Regions from separate parts of the Homo sapiens genome. Here region 1 is linked to region 2. Evidence: promoter capture Hi-C in human tissues and cell types (Jung and others, 2019). All regions are on one chromosome and are shown on one strand. Each heading gives the region's core, a stretch centred on a gene start or on the middle of the fragment in contact. The rest is flanking DNA. Distances are from core to core; before and after follow the strand shown.

Evidence for each region. The method cuts DNA at HindIII sites, captures the fragments that hold promoters and counts their contacts. A contact is called where the count stands out against the background at its distance.
Region 1: a contact is called between the fragment with the promoter of UQCRC1 here and the fragment with the promoter of QRICH1 in region 2, in 1 of the 25 tissues and cell types used here (liver).

Annotation. Positions count from the first base shown.
Region 1 is chr3:48,605,566-48,611,979 of GRCh38, reverse strand. UQCRC1 (ubiquinol-cytochrome c reductase core protein 1) reads left to right here and starts at 2,334. Exons shown (of 13, transcript NM_003365.3): 1 at 2,334-2,428; 2 at 2,678-2,818; 3 at 6,124-6,210. The coding sequence starts at 2,360. RefSeq lists enhancers at 1,944-2,053, 1,750-2,264, 2,344-2,443 and a silencer at 2,614-2,713. The HindIII fragment of the contact is 22,312 bases long and covers 1-6,414 here.
Region 2 is chr3:49,090,372-49,096,941 of GRCh38, reverse strand. QRICH1 (glutamine rich 1) reads left to right here and starts at 2,871. Exons shown (of 10, transcript NM_198880.3): 1 at 2,871-3,030. It overlaps QARS1 (glutaminyl-tRNA synthetase 1), which reads left to right. Exons shown (of 24, transcript NM_005051.3): 24 at 863-1,010. The coding sequence ends at 913. RefSeq lists enhancers at 2,297-2,636, 2,747-2,866, 3,235-3,747 and a silencer at 2,987-3,236. The HindIII fragment of the contact is 8,300 bases long and covers 1-4,768 here.

The DNA.
Region 1 (6,414 bases), core at 1,085-3,584, 480 kb after region 2:
ATGTTAAGTCTCCACCCCAAAGTGAACATGGGTCATATACAACACACATGTTTATTCAGTATACTTGCATTAGGACCCCCTTCATGAGTATCTATAGCTCTTCCTGTAACCTGTTGAATATGGTATTTTTTGTTTTTGTTTTTTCTTTTTTGAGACAGAGTCTCGCTCTGTCACCCAGGCTGGAGTGCAGTGGCGCGATCTCGGCTCACTGCAACCTCCGCCTCCCAGGTTCAAGCGATTCTTCTGCCTCAGCTTCCCGAGTAGCTGGGATTATAGGCACATGCCATCATGCCTGGCAGATTTTTTGTATTTTTAGTAGAGACGGGGTTTCACCATGTTAGCCAGGATGGTCTCAATCTCCTGACCTTGTGATCCGCCCACCTCGGCCTCCCAAAGTTTGGGATTACAGGTGTGAGCCACCGTGCCCGGCCGAATATGTATGTTTAGCCAAGCCATTCGACATAAAGCTCCTGCCTCTTTTTAAGGGTCTGTCTCTGGTTTTGACCAGAAGCCCACCTCCCAGCCTGCAGGTTGTAACCCTTTATAAGAAATAAAGTCAGCCTGGCACGGTGGCTCATGACTGTAATCCCAGCACTTTGGGAGGCTGAGGTAGGAGGATCACTTGAGCTCAGGAGTTTAAGATCAGCCTGGGCAACATAATGAGACCCCCGTCTCCACAAAAAATAAAAAAAAATTAGCTGGGTGTGGTGTGAGAGCCTGTGGTCATGGCATCTGGCATGATTTTTATAAAGATAGTTTTATTTTAAGTATAAGAGTAGTTTTTGGGTAAGGTGTGGTGGCTCACCCCTGTAATCCTAGCACTTTGGGAGGCTGAGGTGGGTGGATTGCTTGAGGCCAGGAGTTTGATATCAGCCTGGCCAACATGGTAAAAAATGCAATGATCCTAGCCCTTGCCTCTTCCTGTACTTAAGATACTGTCTGACAGGATTAATGATTATGCTTCTGTGACCTATAAACAGATGTACTCTTGCACCCAAACCTTGATGAGATTTATGCTCTAATGTAACTTCTGAGCACATTTGATGTAATTTCTGAGCACATGGAGAGCCGCCACCACCAGTGTATAAACTGTCGGAAACACTGCTTTGGAGCAGTCTAGCAGAAACTCCCTGAAAGGCTCTCCCGGGTTGCAATTCTTGGTAAGACTTCTGAATAGAACTAACTTTAAATATTTAAAAGCTTGTTTTTTTTTTTCTTTAGTTGACATAACAAAGCATACCTTAGAAGTCTTTTTTTTTTTTTTTTTTTTTTTTTGAGACGGAGTTTCGCTCTTGTTGCCCAGGCTGGAAATGGCGCGATCTCGGCTCACCGCAACCTCCGCCTCCCGGGTTCAAGTGATTCTCCTGCCTCAGCCTCTGGAGTAGCTAGGATTACAGGCATGCGCCACCACGCCCGTCTACTTTTGTATTTTTAGTAGAGACGGGGTTTCTCCATGTCGGTCAGGCTGGTCTCAAATTCCCGACCTCAGGTGATCCGCCCACCTCGGCCTTCCAAAGTGCTGGGATTACAGGCATGAGCCACTGCACCCAGCCAGAATTCTTTTTCCTCTTACAGAAAAGGAAAGGTTTCACCATGTTGGCCAGGCTGGTCTTGGACTCCTCGCCTCAAGTGATCCACCTGCCTCGGCCTCCCAAAGTGTTGGGATTACAGGAGTGAGCCACCGCTCCCGGCCTGTACTTAGTTCTTTTAAAGAGAAAACTGGCAGGGCGCAAAACTGGCCAACATGGAGAAACCTTGTCTCTTCTAAAGAAACAAAAATTACCGGGCATAATCCCAGCTACTCGGGAGGCTGAGGCAGGAGAATCGCTTGAAGCCGGGAGGCGGAGGTTGCAGTGAGCCGAGATCGCGCCATTGCACTCCAGCCTGGGCGACAGAGCGAGACCCTGTCTCAGAAAATAAAAAATAAATAAAGAGAAAAAAATACTGACTTTCAGCACCAACTTGTGGTCCCAGGTAAGTTTCCACGCTGGTACTTTAGCCCTGGGCTCGAACCTGCGGACACGCTGTGGCTGCAACTCCCCGCCCGCCAGACCTCAGTACGCAGCGCGGCTGGTGAGAAACATAATGCACTCTGACTTCCACGCGTGGAATGGGGAGATGGACTGCACGGCGGGCGGACCTGCTCGGGCTGATGGACGGCAGGTGGACTGATGTGCGCAGGGACTGGCGGCAGCGCGGTCAGAGCCAGTCAGCCAAAGCCAGGCCAGCACAATAGACTGTCCCGGTTCCCGCCAGGAGGCGGCCGAGCACCAACTGTACGGTACTGCGCCTGCGCCGCGACCGCCAACGCGCCCAGTCTACGCTTGCGCGGCGCAACAGGGCCGACTGCAGCTGGAAGATGGCGGCGTCCGTGGTCTGTCGGGCCGCTACCGCCGGGGCACAAGTGCTATTGCGCGCCCGCCGCTCGGTGAGGTGGTGGCGAGAGCGCGGGGCTTCGGGACAGGGCTTCGGGAAGCGGACAGGTGTGGGCTGTTAGCAGTGGCAGGTCGAGGTGGGGAGGACGCGGGGTCAGGGCCGTGGGAAGGTCACGGCGGAGGGCGGGGAAAGGTATCTCGCCGCTTGCCTAGGGGCGGGGTTCGGGGGTCCTCCTGAGGACCTGGGAGGTGGGGAGCGATCCCCTGACCGAGTCCTCACTCGCGGCTGTTCCCTTCCACAGCCGGCCCTGCTGCGGACGCCAGCCTTGCGGAGTACGGCAACCTTCGCTCAGGCGCTCCAGTTCGTGCCGGAGACGCAGGTTAGCCTGCTGGACAACGGCCTGCGTGTGGCCTCCGAGCAGTCCTCTCAGCCCACTTGCACGGTGAGTTGGGGACGCTTTTGGGGAGAGGGCCTCCAGGTTGGGCCTGCCGTCTTTTCCCTGGTTGGGGTGTGACCTTGGGCTCGAGTCTTCCCGTTTGTGGTTTGGGTTCGGACCCAGGACCACTCACCCCGAGAATGGCCCCATTCCCTACCCTAGCCACGCCTTGGCTTCACGGGACAATCTTCACTATAAGCCAACATTATTTAGCATATAATGCCCGTTAAGTAGGCGGCCAAATTCTTTTCCAGCCTTTTGTTAAGGAGCCCATATAAGGGAAGTGATCATGTCTCCTCTTATAATGCGGAAAATGGGATTCAGACACCTTAGGTGACTTGCAGGGGTCCAGGTCTGTCAGCCTCACTGCCCAAGGTCATAATCTCCAGGCTAGACCAGAAATACATTTTAGGAAGCAAATGCATTTTAACAGTACAATGAAATGTGTGATTTTCCAAAAAATACAAATTCTCTAAATTGACACAAGAAATCTTGAGTCACAGATAGATATATGAATAGGTGAGAAGATTCCCAAGAAATAATTATCTCCTCCTCCTTTCAGCCCCCAGCCCCAGGGCCAGATGTTTTTATTGACACATCCTTTTAGTTTTCCAGAAACAATGTCCTGCGATTTAAATTGTTACTAAGCATAGGAAAAGGTGGCCTGCAACTTCCTTGTTATATGTCACTTGTTATAGTAAAGAATGCTATATTACATGAACTCTAAAATGTGCTAGATTGTAAGGAGCTGTCTGTGCTCCAGTGCCAGAGAAAGAATCTCAAGAATCTTGCCAATTTTAATCAAAGGATACTATAGATTGTAAAATGCCTCTTGCATTCCAAGATGTTAGATGTGAAATACATGTTCATCTAAGATTGTGTGATATATGGTATATGCATTGACATCTCTTAGGAAAGCAAATATCACATGTTCTCACTTATCAGTGGGAGCTAAAAAATACGTACATACAGATGTAGAGAGTGGAATGATGGACAGTGAAGACTTGGAAGGATGAAGGGGTGGATGATGAGAAACTACTTAATGGGTCCAGGCCTGGAGGCTCACACCTGTAATCTCAGCACTTTGGGAGACCAAGGCAGGCGGATCAGCTGAGGCCAGGAGTTCAAGACCAGCCTGGCAAACATAGTGAAGCCCCATCTCTACTAAAAATACAAAAATTAGCCATGCATGGCACACGCCTGTAATCCCAGCTCCTGGGGAGACTGAGGCAAGAGAATCGCTTGAACCCGGGAGGCAGAGATTGCAGTGAGCCGAGATGGAGCCACTGCACTCCAGCCTGGGTGAGAGAGCGAGAGTCCATCTCAAAAAAAAAAAAAGAAATTACTTAATGGGTACAAGGTTTGTTATTCTGGTGATGGATAATTCAGAATCCCTGATTTGACTACTTGTGCATTCTGTGCCTGTAATGACATCACACTTGTGGGCGGGGCACAGTGGCTTACACCAGTAATTCCAGGGCTTTGAGAGGCCAAAGCAGGAGGATCGATTGAGCCCAGGAATAAGAGGTTGCAGTGAGCCATGATTATGTCACTGTACTCTGGCCTGGGTGACAGAGCAAGGCCCTCTGTCTTAAAAAAAAAAAAAAAGAAAAAAATGGAGTTTCAGGTGTGGATAGAAATTTCTAAAAATTGTGCTTGTACCCCATAAATTTATACAATAAAAAAAAGTCTTGGCTGGGCGCAGTGGCTCATGCCTATAATCCCAGCACTTTGGGAGACCGAGGCAGGCGGATCACGAGGTCAAGAGATTGAGACCATCCTGGCCAACATGGTGAAACCCCGCCTCTACTAAAAATACAAAAATTAGGCTAGACGCGGTGGCTCACGCCTGTAATCCCAGCACTTTGGGAGGCCGAGGCGGGCGAATCACAAGGTCAGGAGATTGAGACCATCCTGGCTAACACGGTGAAACCCCGTCTCTACTAAAAATACAAAAAATTAGCCGGGCGTGGTGGCGGGCGCCTGTAGTTCCAGCTACTCGGGAGGCTGAGGCAGGAGAATGCCATGAACCTGGGAGGCAGAGCTTGCAGTGAGCCAAGATCGCACCACTGCACTCCAGCCTGGGTGACAGAGCGAGACTCCGTCTCAAAAAAAAAACACACACACACAAAAAAACAAAAATTAGCTGGGCGTGGTGGTGCACGCCTGTAGTTCCAGCTACTCGGGAGGCTGAGGCGGGAGAATCACTTGAACCCAGGAAGCAGAGGTTGAGTGAGCCGACATCACACCACTGCACTCGTCTCGTGACAGAGTGAGACTCCATGTCAAAAAAAAAAAAAAGTACTTAGGAAAGTAGATGTGAAAAACTTAAATCAGCTGTGAACAAATAGTAAATTAAAAGACTAGACCGTGTGACCAAGTGGGGTGAGTGGTACGTGTTTCTTTTACATTTTTTTTTTTTTTTTGAGATGGAGTCTCTCTGTCACCCAGGCTGGAGTGCAGTGGCACGATCTTGGCTCACTACATCCTCTGCCTCTTGGGTTCAAGCAATTCTGCCTCAGCCTCCCAAGTAGCTAGGACTACAGGCACGTGCCACCACACCTGGCTAATTTTTGTATTTTTAGTAGAGACAGGGTTTCACTATATTGGCCAGGCTGGTCTCGAACTGCTGACCTCGTAATCCACCTGCCTTGGCCTCCCAAAGTGCTGGGATTACAGGTATAAGCCACCGCGCCCAGCCTGTGGTGCGTGTTTCACAGCAACCAGGAGGCTGTCAAGAAAATTAATATTACCTTATTGGGTGCCAAGGCAACACTGTTTGGTGTTCAGAGCTGATTAAAAACAACAACAAAAAAGATATTATAGGAACAATATTTAGTGTGATAAAATATACAGTCTAAACCAATAGTCCCTTCCTTAATGATGAAAGGATAAAATCATTGCCAGAACAAAGGCAGCGTGTAATTTTTAGAAAGGAAAAAATAAGTTGTTATTTGCAAATGATATGTTGTATGCTTAGACAAAAACAAATAATTAACTGAAAATTGAGAGTGAATTTAAGGATTTGTATGCTGGTGAGACCAGGTAAATGTGCACAGTTAGAAGTGTCCCTGTGGGTCCTTGATAGCCAATCAGGAGAGCAATGATGTGGTGTGACGAGTCATTCGGCTGCCCCTGTTTTCCAAGCATGACTGTGTCCCCAAGCACAGGGGTCCTGCTGGGGCAGCTCTCCCTGACTCCAGGATTCATAAGTCCCTGCCTGGGGCTTGTACTGAGTCACTCAGGTGGGGTGTGAGTAGGGGGCTGGGGAGTGGTTTGTTTGTAACCTTTTCTGGTGGCTTCTTGACCAGGTGGGAGTGTGGATTGATGTTGGCAGCCGTTTTGAGACTGAGAAGAATAATGGGGCAGGCTACTTTTTGGAGCATCTGGCTTTCAAGGTGAGGCTCTTAAAGTCTGTCTCCTCTGGGCTTAGGGCTGCCTGTTGTCCCTCCTGAGGATGAAGGTCAGAAAAATTAGCCTGATTATGGGCCTCAGTTGCGGGGCTGATGTCTGGCTGGCTTTCCTAAAAGGAGCCACATGAGCTTAACCTCTCCTGAGTGGGCACGTATCTGATGAGCCCCTGCCTGAGGCCCTCAGAGCCA
Region 2 (6,570 bases), core at 1,622-4,121:
ACGATCTCGGCCCACTGCAACCTCCGCCTCCCAGGCTCAAGCCATTCTCCTGCCTCAGCCTTCCAAGTAGCTGGGATTACAGGCACATGCTACCACGCCCGGCAAATTTTTTTTTTTTTTTTTTTTTTTTTTTTTTTTTTTTTGAGACGGAGTCTCACATGTCGCCCAGGCTGGAGTGCAGTGGCACAATCTCGGCTCACTGCAAGCTCTGCCTCCCGGGTTCACGCCATTCTCCCGCCTCAGCCTCCCAAATAGCTGGGACTACAGGCGCCCGCCACCACTCCCAGCTAATTTTTTCTATTTTTTAGTAGAGACGGGGTTTCACCGTGTTAGCCAGGATGGTCTCGATCTCCTGATCTCATGATCCGCCTGCCTCGGCCTCCCAGAGTGCTGGGATTACAGGCGTGAGCCACTGCGCCTGGCCTAATTTTTGTATTTTTAGTAGAGACGGGGTTTTGCCATGTTGGCCAGGCTGGTCTTGAACTCCTGACCTCAGATTATCTGCCTGTCTCAGCCTCCCAAAGTGCTGAGATTACAGGCGTGAGCCACTGCACCAGCCCACCCTGTCTTTCTTACTCCTTAAAGTAGGGGGCAAACATGGTGGTTGTTATAATCCATATAAAACTATACCCTGGACCCCCACGGTGGTTGTTATGGTCCATATAATACTATAGCCTAGAGCCCCATTCAGTCCCTTACCCAAAGTCACAAAGTTATTGAGGACCCGGGCCTCCTGACCCTTAGTCCCTCGGCTTCTTTGGCTTAAGAAGGATGTTAGGGGGAGGTGTCTGTGGTGAAACCTGCCCAGGCCTCCCTGGCCTTGTTCTGGGTTGGTGGTCATCCTTTTCCCTCTGCCCTCCAGCTTGTCTTTAACCGAACTGTCACACTGAAGGAAGACCCAGGAAAGGTGTGAGCTGGAAGCACTGAACCTACCTCATCCTCCTGGAGGGTGTGGCTACCCTCGCCACCCCAAATTCCATGTCAATAAAGAACAGCTAAATTCTCCTAGAGTCTGTGTGTTATCTCTGCACTTCTAGCATCTGAAGGCCCTGAAGACATGCTGGTGGTGGTGGTATGATTGGGGGATGGAGATGTGCCTTTTGCACATTTTGTCTGTGAGAATGGACTTTCCCAGAACAGAGTGGTACTGACAGCTTTGAAAGCACCGGTGCACTTTTTGGTGCTTAAAGGCAGGGGCCTGGGTAGGATTCATACCCTCCGCACCTGGTCTGAGAGAATGGAGGGCCCTGGGGTGTTTGTCCATGGTTAGGACCCCTGTGCCAGAGGGATCTAAAAGGTTTGTTTCTGCTGGTGTGGAGAGGCCTAGCTCCCAGTCTGATCATTCAGCATATAATTTTTTTTTTTTTTTTTTGATACGGAGTTCCACTCTAGCCCAGGCTGGAGTGCAGTGGCTCAATCTTGGCTCACTGCAACCTCTGCCTCCCGGGTTCAAGCGATTCTCGTGCCTCAGCCTCCCAAGTAGCTGGGATTACAGGCGGGCGCCACCACTCCTGAATAATTTTTGTAATTTCAGTAGAGACGGGGTTTTGCCAAATTGGCCAGACTGGTCTGGAACTCCTGACCCCAGGTGATCTGCCCGCCTCGGCCTCCCAAAGTGCTGGGATTGCAGGCGTGAGCCACTGCGCCCAATCAGCCTATAATTCTTTTTTATTTTTGAGACGGAGTCTCACTCTTGTCCCCCAAGCTGCAGTGCAATGGTGTGATCTCAGCTCACTGCAACCTCTGCCTCCCAGGTTCAAGCAGTTTTCCTGCCTCAGCCTCTTAAGTAGCTGGGATCACAGGCATGCACCACCACACTCGGCTAATTTTGTATTTTTAGTAGAGACGGGGTTCACCATGTTGGCCAGGCTGGTCTCAAACTCCTGACCTCAGGTGATTCACCCGCCTCGGTCTCCCAAAGTGTTGGGATTACAGACTTCAGCCACCGTGCCCGGCCCATTCGGCATATAATTTTTGAGTGCCTACTACGTGCCAGGCAAAGTGAGATGGGGCATACGTGCTGTGGTGGCCTTCCAAGTTCACGGGAGGGGAAATGGGTGACCAAGCACTGTATGGGAGCGGTCTCCCTGGGGCCTGTGCAAGACTGGAAGAGGTTCCTGACCCAGCCTGGGCCTCAGAAAACATTACTCTAACGAAGTGACTTCTGAAGGGAATCACGAAAGACTACGGGGAGTTTGCCAGGATAAGAGGAACAAGGGCAAAAGCTCCGAGGCAAAAAGAGTCTACAGCAGGCTGGAAGCCCTCTGGGGGCAGTGTAGGCTGCTGCTGAGGCCCGAGTGTGCCTGCAGCTTTAACGCCTTCCACATTTTCCCTGTATACAAACACTAGGCTACCCGGGGGCCCGCTTTAAGGTGGACCCAACTGCGGAAGGCTGAACTCAGATGGCAGCAGACAGCGGGAGTACCAGATGCTGACTCCTCCAGGAGGTGAGCAACCTAGAGGCTTCCCAGGCAGGGCACGGCTGGGGACGCCAGGCCCAGGACAGAAGTTTGTGGGGTCCACCTTAAGCGAGAGGCCGAGCCTGGCCAGGCCCCGCCCCGCGTGGGCGTGCTCGACCAAAGGAGGCTCTGGCGGGCGACGGAAGGTGGGTCCAAAGAGCTAGCTTGGAGCCCTAGCCTTCCGAGACTCCACTACTAGGCCAAGCCACGGCCCTAGCTCCGCCCCACATGGAGAGGCGTCCATGGGCGGAGCGAGCCGCTCCATACCCTAGGATCCACTATCCGCTCTAGCGGCCAGAAGCGCGGCCACCTTCCCCTGCTGAAGCGTTCACTTTAATTTTGGCCGGTAGGCAGTCCCAGATCTCGCGGGATCCGACGCCCCGATTATCGCGAGAGGAGCAATCGGCTCCTATTGGCTGTGAGGGTTGAATGTAAGATGGCGCCCAGGGAGCTGTGAGGAGAAAACCCTGTCGGTCTTGGAGCGACGACGGCAGAACCAGGGTCCCTGGCGGTGCGGCGGGGCCGGCGGGTGCAGCGGAGGCGGCGGCGGCGGCGGCAGTGACGTCGCCGGGTGAGGGCTCCAGTGCGGGTGGGGATGCGGCGAAGCTGTAGGCCTGAGACGGGGGGCCCACCCCACACAACGGCGGGCGGGGGCGGGCGGGCCACTACCGCTGGGCCCTGGAGAGTTCGGGGCGGCTCCGGAGCCGAAAACGTTCCTGGGCTAGCGCACCCCGCCCTGTGGATGGGGGAGGGGTGGCCCGGGGATTTGGGTGGGCGCGGCGCGAGATGGCGCGCCGGTGCGGGCGCGCGGCTGAGCCTGTTTTTACGCGCGCGCGCTGTGCGGCTCTCGGTGCGCGTGGCCGCCGACGTGCGCGTTCCCGGCCCGGATATCTCTGCTCTAGGAGCTGTGGCCCGTGGGCAACCGCGGCTTTCTGGAGCGCGCGCCCGTGACGACCCCCAGTTTTGGGGCGCGCGCTCTGATATCGGGTGGCGGTGCTGCCTCGAGAGCGCGCAGGAGGCTTCTGCTGAGCAGAGGGCCGGCCGCGGCTCGTTGCGCTGGGAAGGTTGAGGATTGGGTCCTTTCTGGTCTGGTGACGTTCCCGGGCATCCGTGGCCTCGGCCTGGAGAGAAACCAACCAGCTTTGCTGTCTGGCTTGCGGTTCCGCTCCTCTGTGAGGGGGGCGAGATTGCCCGTTCTCCTCGAAGAATGCCGTTACTTGAGGCCCAAGTACGGTGCGGGTGCTTGGGTAGGGTGTTTCTCTGCTTCGGAAACCAAGCCCTCTTGGTTTGAGAGGGCAGTGAGCCCCTTCGGATTTCCTCACCTTGTACTGGGCTTTCTGCCGGGCAGGGAAGGTTAATATTAGAAGGCCCTTGAGTGGTACCTGCTTATCTTTCATTAGAAACTAATACGTCCATAAGCGTAATTCATACACGTCACCTCTGTGCGCTCCGGAAGGGAATTCGCTTATGTGGCCCATGTGAACTCCGAGCTCTAAAATGCCAGTTTAAATCCTTAAACGCAGCTTTTCTTTTGCGTAAGTGGGAGGGGCTTACTTTATTATATTAAAGGCCCACCTTTGCCTCAGCCAAAAAGTTGGCCTTAAACAAAATGGAACAACCTGAGAATCAGTGCTTTACCTTTTTTGAAATTGCAGAAATCCCAGCAGAAATTACTAAAATCTGATAGTGTATCACTGTAAAAGTCACTTTTGGTGTAGGATTTCAGTCCTTTTCAGCTCTTTTTTTGACCCTGCCGCTGTGTTTTGGTGTCAAGGAAGTTCTAGGTTTGTTCTAGAGAAATAGGCACCTCTTTTTTCTAATACAAAACATCTGCTAGTTTGATTTACAGTCTTGCTCAATTAAGCTTAAGGAATAGGAAGCTAAGAGGAAGTAAAATTAGCCATCAAATTTGATAATGGTGGGGTAGTTCTTTCTAATGTACTGTATTGTTTTTAAGAACAAAGTTAAAATTATTAATAAAAAGAGGCTGAGGATGGAAGGAACTTTTTTGTTCTATCTTCTTCAGAATATTAGAAGTCTTAAGAACTCAGGACAAGCAGCAGAAATACATGCAACATGGTGACTGGTGAGTTAAAATTGTTCATATCCTGGAAGTATCTGTGCACAGTTTTTTTTCTGGTAATACTGAAGCATTACAAATCCTGTCAATTCTGGGTGCTGTCTTCCAGAAACTATTAGGTGCTGTAAAATGAAGATGTGGGAGAACGGCATCTTTGAATTCAGCCACAGTTCGCTACTTGCTCAGTTTTCTCCTCTTAGGATATAAGTCAGTGGAACCCGCAGATTTAAGCGTTTGCAGGCTCAGCTTTTAAACGGACCTAAATGGTTCAAAGAAAAGCTGTAAAGTTTTTCTAGGATACACTTAAAATTTTGACTTTTTTTTTTTTTTTGAGACGGAGTCTCACTCTGTCACCCAGGCTGGAGTGCAGGGGTGTGATCTCGGCTCACTGCAACCTCCGCCTCCCTGGTTGAAGCGATTCTCCTGCCTCAGTTTCCCAAGTAACTGGGATTACAGGCATGCAGCACCACACCTGGCTAATTTTTTGTATTTGTAGTATAGACGGGGTTTCACCATGTTGATCAGACTGGTCTCGAACTCCTGACCTCGTGATCCACCCGCCCTCGGCCTCCCAAAGTGCTGGGATTACAGGCGTGAGCCACCGCGCCCGACCAAATTTTGATTAATTTTTTAGGCTTGCTTGTTCTGGGTTATCTTTATTTTTAACTATTAAGCTTGAGATCTTCCTTTTAAATTGGTGTTTATAAATACTTTTTCTCCAAGTTTGTCAACTAAGATTTACTTATTAGATGTCTTCCTTCGGGTCCTCTCTGATGAATTTTTCCTATAACTCTTCGAGAACCTCTGCAGTTCCACATCCTCTCTCCAGCTTATGTTGCCATTTCAAACTAAAGATCAAATAGTGGTTTAATTTTCTTGTAAATTTGAATTGCTCTAGGAAAGTAACCAAAGTCAGGGGCTCTGGATGTGGCTGCCTTTCTTTAAGGCAGCTTCAGAATCAGGGATGTCTTTCCTTACTTTGGATATGCTTTTTTTTTTGGATATGCTTTCTTTTAGTTTAATTAGTTGTGGTTTATACTTCATGTGCCATATTTCTTTCTTGTCTGCTTTTTAAATGGCCACTCTTGATCTGTAAGGGTCTCTGATTTCTGAATTAGCCTTAGAATTAGGTGTTACATGAATACCTGTTCTTTTCTTTTTATTTTTATTATTATTTTTTGAGACGGAGTCTCGCTCTGTTGCCCGGGCTGGAGTGCTGTGGTGCAATCTTGGCTCACTGCAACCTCTGCCTCCTGGGTTCACGCCATTCTCCTGCCTCAGCCTCCGGAGTAGCTGGGACTGCAGGCTCCCGCCACCATGCCTGTCTCATTTTTTGTATTTTTTAGTAGAAACGGGGTTTTACTCTGTTAGCCAGGATGGTCTCAATCTCCTGACCTCGGGATCCTCCCACCTTGGCCTCCCAAAGTGCTGGGATTACAGGCGTGAGCCACCGCGCCTGGCCTATTACCTGTTCTTTTCTGTTATTCTGTTGTACTGCATTTTGTTCCAGATGTTTTAAGTCCTCTTCAGACTTCACTTAAATGCTTCCTTTGTATTTTTTCCTAGTTATTACATTAGATTGTGATTTCTGTTATTAAATTGATGTGGCTGCATGAAGAAATGGTAGATTAATTTCTTCCTTTGCTGAAAGAGGGAAGGAGTGCTCCTTTGGTCTCACTCTTCAGGCCAGGGCAAAACTGTAGGTAGAAATGGTGGCTGTGTCAGAAGGCTAATATTTTTCTCTTTTTCTCTTTTCTCTTTTTTTTTTTTTTTTGAGATGGAGTTTCACTCTTGTCGCCCAGGCTGGAGTGCAGTAGCACGATTTCGGCTCACTGCAACCTCCACCTTCCGGGTTCAAGCAATTCTCCTGCCTCAGCCTCTGGAGTAGCTGGAATTACAGGTGCCCGCCACCACGCTGGGCTAATTTTTTTTTTTTTTTTTTTTGAGACGTAGTCTCGCTCTGCTGCCCAGGCTGGAGTGCAGTGGCACGATCTCGGCTCACTGCAAGCTCCACCTTCTGGGTTCACGCCA